2 separate regions of the Homo sapiens genome follow, and region 2 is linked to region 1. The links are contacts of gene promoters, found by promoter capture Hi-C in blood cells and fetal thymus (Javierre and others, 2016). All regions are on one chromosome and are shown on one strand. The core of a region is centred on a gene start or on the middle of the fragment in contact, and the rest is flanking DNA. Distances in the headings are between cores, read along the strand shown. Region 1 holds the start of CNNM1 (cyclin and CBS domain divalent metal cation transport mediator 1). Region 2 overlaps HPSE2 (heparanase 2 (inactive)).

Evidence for each region. Contacts are between HindIII fragments. The CHiCAGO score rates a contact against its expected background, and 5 or more counts as called.
Region 2: a fragment that was not itself captured here is called in contact with the fragment with the promoter of CNNM1 in region 1 in 1 of 17 cell types (total CD4 T cells); the score reaches 5.2 in total CD4 T cells.

Annotation. Positions count from the first base shown.
Region 1 is chr10:99,325,734-99,330,668 of GRCh38, reverse strand. It overlaps CNNM1 (cyclin and CBS domain divalent metal cation transport mediator 1), which reads right to left and starts at 1,313. Exons shown (of 11, transcript NM_020348.3): 1 at 1-1,313. The coding sequence starts at 1,281. The HindIII fragment of the contact is 5,728 bases long and covers 1-4,461 here.
Region 2 is chr10:98,466,759-98,471,186 of GRCh38, reverse strand. All of the region lies in intron 11 of HPSE2 (heparanase 2 (inactive)), which reads left to right. Among named protein-coding and RNA genes, the nearest start is that of HPS1, 22 kb to the right of the region's middle. RefSeq lists silencers at 3,141-3,240, 3,291-3,340. The HindIII fragment of the contact is 5,922 bases long and covers 1-4,428 here.

The sequences.
Region 1 (4,935 bases), core at 64-2,563:
TTTGGTGCGCAGCTCCAGGGCACCCTGTATGATGTTGAGCTCCTCCTTCACCAGGTCACTGTAGGGGTCTGCGGCCCGCAACGTCTCCAGCAACTTCTCCCGCGTGTAGAAGGTGCTTATCTCCTGGCGCAGCGCCCAGTCCAGCAGGCGGCCCAGCGGGTAGCACACGGGGAAGGCGGCTGCCATCAGAAGCCGGGTCAGGCACACGCTGTGCGAGGCGATGGCCAGCCCGTGCCGCGAACACACTGAGTAGGGGCAGATTTCGGCGCCCAGGAATACCGCGCCGGTGCACACGAGCGCCGGCAGCCACGGGAAGTGGATCCCCTCTTCGCTGTAGTCTTCCCCGGTGCCCCCGAAGCCCGGCGGCAGCGAGGTGTACAGCCAGCCAGCCAGGGCCGCGTTGGCTCCGGCTTGGCCCAGGAGTAGGGTGCAGAGCAGATGGGTCCCCCTGCCGCGAACGGCCTGCACGCGGCGCGCCTGCTCCTGCTCGGCGGCCGAGCCGCTGTTCCGCAGCACCCGTAACTCCACCGGGTCCAGCGACAGCAGGCTCAGGCGCAGGCCGCTGAACAGGGCCGACAAGGCTAGCAGCAGGAGCGCCCCGAGCGCCCGCAGCCACGCAGGGGGCAGCAGGTCCCCGCCTGGGCCGTACAACCGCGGGCGAACGCGCAGCAGGAAGCCGCCGGCGGCGCCGTGGTGGTGCCACGCGCGCCCATCCCAGGCGCAGAGTGAAAAGAGCTTCCCGCCACCGCCCGCGCCGCCCCGCTCCGCTTCGCCCTTGCGCAGCTCCCGCACTCGCACCTGGACCAGGGCCGAGCCTGCCACGCCCCCGGGACGCAAGGGCCCCAGGACTTCCACGTCCGATGCCCAGTCGCTCTGCTCCCTGCAGCGCTGCGGTCCCGGGGGGCGAGTGGGGACCGCGCTGGGGGCCACGCCGCCACCGCCCGGGGGCTCCTCGATGAACACGAGCCGCGGAGCCCAGTCGCCGGTGCCATTCTCCCCCGAGTTGAGGGTCGGTGAGGGCACCGGTGCGGCGGTGGCCGGCGGTCCTGGCTGGAAATAGACACGCAGGAGGAAGCTGGTGCCTTCGGCGGCGCGCAGGGTGCCCCCCTCCAGGGACACGCGGCCTCCAGCAGTGTCCTCGGGCCGCAGGCCCAGCAGCCAGGCGGCGGCGGCCGGGGGCCGAGGAGACAGGGAAAAGAAGAGCAGGAGCACAGCGCCTCGGCTGCAGCAGTCCCGGAGCCTGACACCCACCGCTGCTGCCGCCGCCGCGGCCGCCGCCATCCTGCACCCAGCGCAGCTGCACGTGATACTGCAGGAAGCCGAGCGAGAGCTGGAGGGAGGAGGAGCCGGAGCTGGGAACCCAGCCGCAGGCAGGTCACCACGTGTACGCCCACTGCGCGCGTGGGCTGGTGGCGGTGGGCATTCAGACTCCACCTGGGCAGGAGGTCCCCGCTGGAGGCTGGAGGTGGCCAGGCATCACCGCACTGTGCGTAGCGGGTACACACTTCGGTATATCTGAGATGCAGCCTGAAAAGTCTGGGTTTGCAGCATGGCCTCCTACTCCAAAAGTAAGGTGCTCCTCTGCGAACTCCTACCCGGCAGTAATTCCCTGCCGGCTCCACTGCTTCCCCATTGGCCCGGGAAATTTCCCAGCTTTTCGCTTCTCCTGCCACTTGCATTCCCCCTTCTGGTCAAAAGAATATTCTGGAGTCAAGTCTTGAATATGTGAAAACTTTTAGCCTCAACTCCAGCCGACCTTTCATTATTGTAAACATTTCTGGATTATTTAAGTTCAATTCTTAGTTAAGATCCGAATGTCCATCAATAAGAAACTGTTGAAATAAGTGAAACCACTGTGCAATGGAATACTATGCGGCAATAAAAAATAATGCGGTGGATCTGTTGTATATGTGATACGGAAAAAAATCTCCAAAGTAATTGTAGAAACAAAGTAAGGTGCAGAACAGCAAGTATAATATGCTACCATTTGTGTTAAAAGTATTTATGTATAAATTTGTACACACACACACACTTATATGAGATTTATTTATTTATTTATTTATTTTGAGATGGAGTCTTGCTCTGTCGCCCAGGGTGGAGTGCAGTGGCACAATTTTGGCTCACTGCAACCTCCACCTCCCGGGTTCAAGCGATTCTCCTACCTCAGCCTCCTGAGTAGCTGGGATTACAGGCGTGCGCCACCGCGCCCAGCTAATTTTTATATTTTTAGTAGAGATGGGGTCTCACCATGTTGGCCAAGCTGGTCTCGAATCCCTGACTTCAAATGATCCATCTGCCTCGGCCTCCCAGGGTGCTGGGATTACAGGCGTGAGCCACCGCGACCCGCCGTTTACATCTTTTAATTAATTTATTTATTTTGAGACGGAGTTTCGCTCTTGTCACCCAGGCTGACGTGCAATGGCGCGATCTCGGCTGACTGCAACCTCCGCTTTCCAGGTTCAAGCGATTCTCCTACCTCAGCCTCCTGAGTAGCTGGGATTACAGGCGCCCGCCATCACGCCCGGCTAATTTTTTTTTTTTTTTTTTTTGGTAGAGACGGGGTTTCACCACGTTGGCCAGGCTGGTCTCGAACTCCTGACCTCAGGTGATCCGCCTGCCTCGGCCTCGCAAAGTGCTGGGATTACAGGCATGAGCCACCGTGCCTGGCGGGTTACATCTTAATTATAGTACAATATCAAAAGCAGGAAGTTGATATTGGTGTAATGTGTGTATATAGTTCTCTATCATTTTATCACATGTATGGATGTATGTGACCATCACTGCACTCAAAATACAGATCTATTATCACCAAGATCTGGGAGGGAGACTTTCTTATTAAATTCCTTATATTGTTTGAATTTACTCGACTATATTATTTTTATGCATTTATTTTTAAACTTTATATAGTAAAATTCACTTTTTGGTGTACTGTTCTATGAATGTTGACAAATGCATATACATGTAAACATCACAATAAAAAGTAATTCCATCACCACCACCCCCCAAATTCTCTTACCGTCCTATTGTATGTAGTCAACCCCTCCCTTCGTCTTATCCTCTGGGAACTACTGATCTGTTCTCCCCTATAGTTTTCTTTTCCGGATTATCATATAAATGGAGAATACAGTCTGTAGCCTTTTGGGTTCTCCCTTCCTTTACTAAGTTAGCATAATGCATTTACGATTCATCTATGTTGTTGTGATTTTCAGTAGTTCATCCTTTTGTATGGCTGAGTAGCATTCCATTATATGGATGTGTCACTGTTTGTTTATCCATTCAATAAAGGATATTTAAGTTATTTCCAGTTTTTAGCAATTATTAATAAAGTGGCTATGAACATTTGTGTGATGGTTTTTGTGAGAACATAAATTTTTATTTCTCTTGGGTAAATTTATCATAAGTCTGTATTACATTTTAAAATATAGTAATCCTAACTACTTGGTAGGCTGAAGTGGGAGGATCTCTTGAGGCCAGGAGTTAGAGACCAGCCGGAACAATGTAGGGAGGCCCTGTCTCTAAAAAATTAAAAATTAAAAAAAATTAGCCAGGCATGGCGACACATGCCTGTAGTTTCATCTACTTGGGAGGCTGCAGCAAGAGGATCACTTGAGCCCAGGAATTCGAAGCTGCAGTGAGCTATAATCGCATCACTGCACTCCAGCCTGGGCAACAGCATGAAACCTTGTCTCTAAAAATAATTAATAAATTAAAAAGGAAGAGTTATTTTACATACCACCCTTGGCACCTGGGTTTAGTGTAAAATCATCCCTATGTGTGAAATCTCATTTTCCGTGGCATTTGTGACATGCCATTGTCTCAGAATACACTAGATCCTGTCCACTATAAGCTGCTTTTTGCATGGGCTACTTAAGAGACAGAAGGGAGGTTTAATCTTATGAGGGAACATTGAGGCATTTATTCGAAGTATAAGGGAAGGAGAGAACTGGGGTCAACCATATGATTGTTTTTCTTCCTTTCTTTCTTTCTTTTTTTTTTTTTATTGAGACGGAGTCATGCTCTGTCACCCAGGCCGGAGTGCAGTGACGCGATCTTGGCTCACTGCAACCTCCACCTCCTGGGTTCAAGCAATCCTCCTGTCTCAGCCTCCCAAGTAGCTGGGATTACAAGAGTGTGCCACCACACCTGGCAAATTTTTGTGTTTTTAGTAGAGATGGGGTTTCACCATGTTGGCCAGGCTGGTCTCAAACTCCTGACTTCAGGTGATCCACCTGCCTCGGCCTCCCAAAGTGCTGGGATTACAGGCGTGAGCCACCCGCCCAGCTGATTGTTTTTCTTAAGTGCAAAAAAGCGCTTACTTCTCTCCTGACACTTAGACTTCTTTCCCTTCCCAACCTAAACTCCTCAGCACAAAGATACCCGCTATCCTAAGGGCTTTCCCAGCTCTTTTAGACCACAGAACATTATCATCATTACAATACCACGTAACATCTTTAACAAGCTTTAAAGTTATGAAGGAATTTCTTATTTATTATTCCATATACACAAGAGCCCTGGGAAGTAGGTATAATTATACCCATTTTACAGATCAGGTTAAATGACTGGTAAAACTTCTTTGGACCCTAGCTTGATGCTTCCTTTATCTGGTAGAGCTGACGGAAATAAAATGTTTAAAAAATATTAGAGCAGGAATTAAAAAACTGAAATTTCTGGTTATAAAGTATTACATGCTTATTAACAAAAATTTTAATGCAGAAGAACATAAATAAAAATACACCATGACCCACCAACTAGAGATAAACACTGTTAACATTTTTTATACTACTTTTTACATTTTCTACATAGATAAGTAATGGAGAAATACATGCACACACACACACACACACGTGCTCTCCATATAGTTACATATTTTATAATTAAATATGTATTATACATAATTCTAGTCAGCTCCTGCTACTTAACACATCAAGGGCTTTT
Region 2 (4,428 bases), core at 812-3,311, 860 kb after region 1:
CTTCGATTTTTCCCAGATTAGATTCTTCATTCAGGCGCTATGCCATTTTGCCAAAGGTGTGAACATGCCATGAGCCCCTGGGAGTTCTCTGTGACTGAGTGGAAGGATGAGTGCTGGCTTCTCAAAGGTTTTATTGTTTGTTTTGTTTTAACTCCCAGATTACTAATGTGGAGATCACTGTGCCGATTAGAGGATTATGAAATGCTTTTATGTTTTACAGCGACTTGACATTTTAAACCAAGATGTTTAGGAATCTAGGCTTTTCACTGTTATTTTCCGAGAGTTTTTTGTTTGTTCTCAGATCCAGAATATATTTTCCTCCAGTTCACTCCCAGCAGCTGGAAACTCTCTGCGTAGCTGTCCATTAAGGCTGTGGTATCCCCTCTTCACCTCCACTCACTTAGGGACCCTCGTTGTAGGCAGGGATTTCCATTCTGTCCCAGATGACCTAGACGAAACACCTGTAAATGGGCAAGTTAGGGTAGAGCTAACATATTTCTAAACAGTTGATTCTAAAGTGAGAGAGCAGCAGAATATGTGGGCAGTTCTGGCTGACTGAGAAGAAATGGCCCTCGTCTTCTTCTTCCCCTGCACCTTCCAGAGGCTGTGATGAAGAAATGTAAGCCTTAAGGAACTGAAAGTTCTAATCCAGCTTATCCCTATAGTGGGGCCTGGGCCCTGAATTGGTGTTTCTTTGGCTGCTAAGCATCAGGAAGCCCAGGGCAGGATGTGGGCTCATTCCAGACAAGGGGCCTGGAGCATTAAACTGTGGACCCACTGCCAAACACCAGCAATACCCGTGCAGACTAGCCTTCCCTGCTTACCCTTGCAACAATGATTCAGAGTCACCCCACACTTTGCACTTGGATATCTGTGGGATCTGGAACAGAGCCTGTACCACCTGAGACATCTTTTTTCCCTTTTGAGATTATACCAGTACACCTGATGTCATGGGGAATACTTTGTCAAAAGTTAATAAAACAGGTATTTATCACCTTAACATGTGTGTTAAACATAACTAAACATGTTATGTTTAAAACGTGTGTTAACATGTGTGCATACACACACACACACACACACACACCTGCCTTCCTACCTGTCTTCACTCCACCTGTAGACTGCTGTAAAGGGGATGCTTTGTAGCCCCACATTCTCTCCTCCAGCTCCACACAATTAGGACTGGGGAAACCTGGTCCCTCTCCACAGAGGCTACCGTAACTCAGAGACAAAACAGACCACCTAAGGGTAAATATAGGAGATGGGATTATGAGAAAGAGAGAGATGAATTCTGACTTGGGAATCTGAAAAGTCTCAGGGCTGAAGGCCGTGGAGCTGGAGCTGGAAGGATGTGCCATACTTCTAGGAAAGGCTGTAGGAAAGGCAACTTCCAGCAACAGGATGAGATCACTAAGGGTTTGGAAGTACAGAAGTTCAAGGCTCATTTTGTTTGGGAGGTGGCAAATCATCTCATGTGACTGGAATACAGGATGCTTTGTGGGGCAAAGGGAAAGGCCACAAACACATAATAAGCCCAGACTGCAGAAGGCCTTGAAATCCAGGCTAAGTCTGATTTTCCTCCCTTCCTGCTCTTTGTGTAATATCTTTATATGGTGTGTCTGCTCAGACATTTGCATATTTCAGTGTTTTCTTAGAAGACAAGGAGTAAGTCTATTGTAATTTAATTGGTACAATGAAAAGAACGATGGAACTATGAATAATGCCCCTTAAACACTACTTGTAAATGTTGATGATGATGGCACCAATTCTTTACAGTGGTAGGGGGACATAGTTAACCACATGCTGAAGTCTCCATGGTTTTTATAGCTGGTTCCTATTGTGTCCTGTGGTTTGAGTGTGATATGCCTATGACATGGAGCTTTGAGATGGCTGCAGGATCAGATTTTCTTTCCAAACTTCCCCCAGATGATTCCCTCATCTGCTGGGAGTTAACAATATCAGTATAAATCCAGGTTCCTTAGTCAGGCTCTCATCTTGTCTGCCAAGTGTGCTAAATTATTTTAAGCCATTAGAAGCACATGGTAGAGTCCATTATGGATTGGATCACTATTACACAGACTTGGATAGAATACAGATCAAATCCTGACCCCCAAACCACACTACATCCAGGAAAAGCCTATATCCCTAACAACTTGCCTACAAAACCCCCAGCTCTCCTTGTATAAAGGGTCCTGGTATTTTCTCTGGTCAGTGATACAGAAGCTAGATCAAAACTGCTCACCATTTCAGCGTGTCCCTCAGAGGGTAGGATGGAGGGCAAATAAACTTCTCAGCCTCAAAATGTCTTAGGGACAAGGAACTCCAAATAGGGTATGGGCTGTTGGAAGGGCAAGGGAACAGGATACTATTTTCCCCATTTTCTCTCTCTATCCCTTACAGTCCTCTCTGTTAACAACAGTAGAGGAAGAGATTGGAACATACAGCCAGGCATGACTCCTAGAGCAGTTGATTGAGCAGAACTCAACAAGTATTAACTAAACAGCTATCATGGACAAAAAGGCACTGAGCCGCATACTATTGAAAATTGAGAAATGAAAAGTCAGTAGCAGACAAAATGACCCAAGCACACAGATAAAATAAGCCTGAGAGGGACGCTAAAAGGGAGATGCAGATAATGTGCCGCTCTCCCAGCTTGTTATCAGGTGAGGTCCCAAGCAGGAGGCTACCTCTGACAGGGCCTGGAGGGAAGAACAGGCTTTTGAGAGATTCCACCGGATTCCAGGTAGAGCAAAAAGCACATAGAAGAAAAGTTCAGGACACACTTGAAGTAATTGCCCCCGTGACTCCTGAGGAGTGGGAGCACCCCAGAGAGGGTCATGACGGTCTTAGAGCCTTTCCTCCAGCCGGACATGGGGTACCAGGCGACACCACCTGCAGGGGCCACTTCTGAGCAGCCTTCCTCAGCGTGGTAGCCATCACTCAAGGCAATTTCAGACGAACTTCCTGTTCAAGCTGCCCCAGATGCACCGTCTCCCCACCGAGCAGGAAAGGGAAGCAAAGCCCCTCTGTCCTCAAACCTGACTGGGCCTCCTCGGGACTCTAACCTGCCCCTGACCTGGAGAAGGGCAGGGCAGCTGCACATACCAGCTTCCTCGCTCAGCGAGGGGGCCGGGAGCCTGCAAAGCACAAACAGGTGCGGGGCCGACCCGACTGGCGGCCGGGGGCAGCCGGGGACCCGGAGCCCGGGAGAGCCCAGCGCCGAGTCGTGGCGGGCGCCGCAGACCCCGCACCTGCCCTGGGACCCCCCGTTCTCTGCACGCTGGCCGGGAAGCCGGCACCCCTGCAGGAATTGCAGTCCCGTTTCGCACGTTTCCTTAATATTAGGCCACATTCCAGGTGGGACCCTTGCCAACGGGACCGCAACGAAGTTCTGGTTGGGATTTGATTGATTCTGTGATTTGTTCCTCCGGGAGGCCAAGCGCAGGGCACATCTCCCGGCCTTCCTGAGACTGGAGTGCGGGATTTGGAGGCAGGCGGACGCATTCCGGCTTCCTGGGTGCCACCCCGAAGTCAGACTGTCCTGGCACCATTGTGTAGGACAAGAGTGACCTCTAGTGGCCCCTAGGAAAGCACACTGGAGGAAAGGGAGCTGATAACTCAAGCGCAGGCCCATACAAACACACAGTCGGACTTATCTCTCCCCTGCCCCTCCTCCTTTCTCTCCCCCTTCCCTCTCTCCCTCTCTCTCATCATTTAACAATCCAGAAACTGAGACCAGAAGCGGCTGGTCACATACCTAGACCTGCACATTTCATGTCCCAAGCCTGGACTAAAACGGGTTTCTGGCCTTCCTGTCCAGAGTCTTTCCTTCTAGGTAGTAGTTCTTTTGCCCACGTGTTTATATCCAATGTGTCTTTTATTGACGCCTCCTGTGTGAGTGGGCGGACAGAAGAGTGACGGATGAGTAAGACACATGGGCTTCCAATCTAGTGGAGAGACTGACAAGCAGTCAGCTCAGCGGTCACAATACTGTGTGACAGGAGCTGAGATCCAAGAAGTACTGGGTCCTGTGGGAGCACCCCTGACTTGAAGGACAAGTAAGAGTTAGCCAGGAGAAGGAAGCTGGAAGGGAGGAGGAGGGCATATGGAGAAAGGTCCGGGTAGAAGGAAACCGTGTGCAAAACCCCTGTGCTTAGGCCGCGATTAGATAAATGGCCGTAAAGAATGAAAGGAGGTGGGGGTGGAAGGGAGCTGGAAGGGGCGGGAGCTAGAGTGAGCCTCTTGGCGGTTGGAGAAGTAGATAATAGGGCCTGTGCATGGGGACTTCAGACAATGTTCTAAGATCAGCGGGAAGCCACTGAATATTTAGACAGGTCAATATCATGGTCAGATTTCTGTTTATGCAGGATCACTCTGGGCTTGGCATAAAACTTTGCCTTAGGCTAGCTGTTAGTCATAGGCAACCCAACT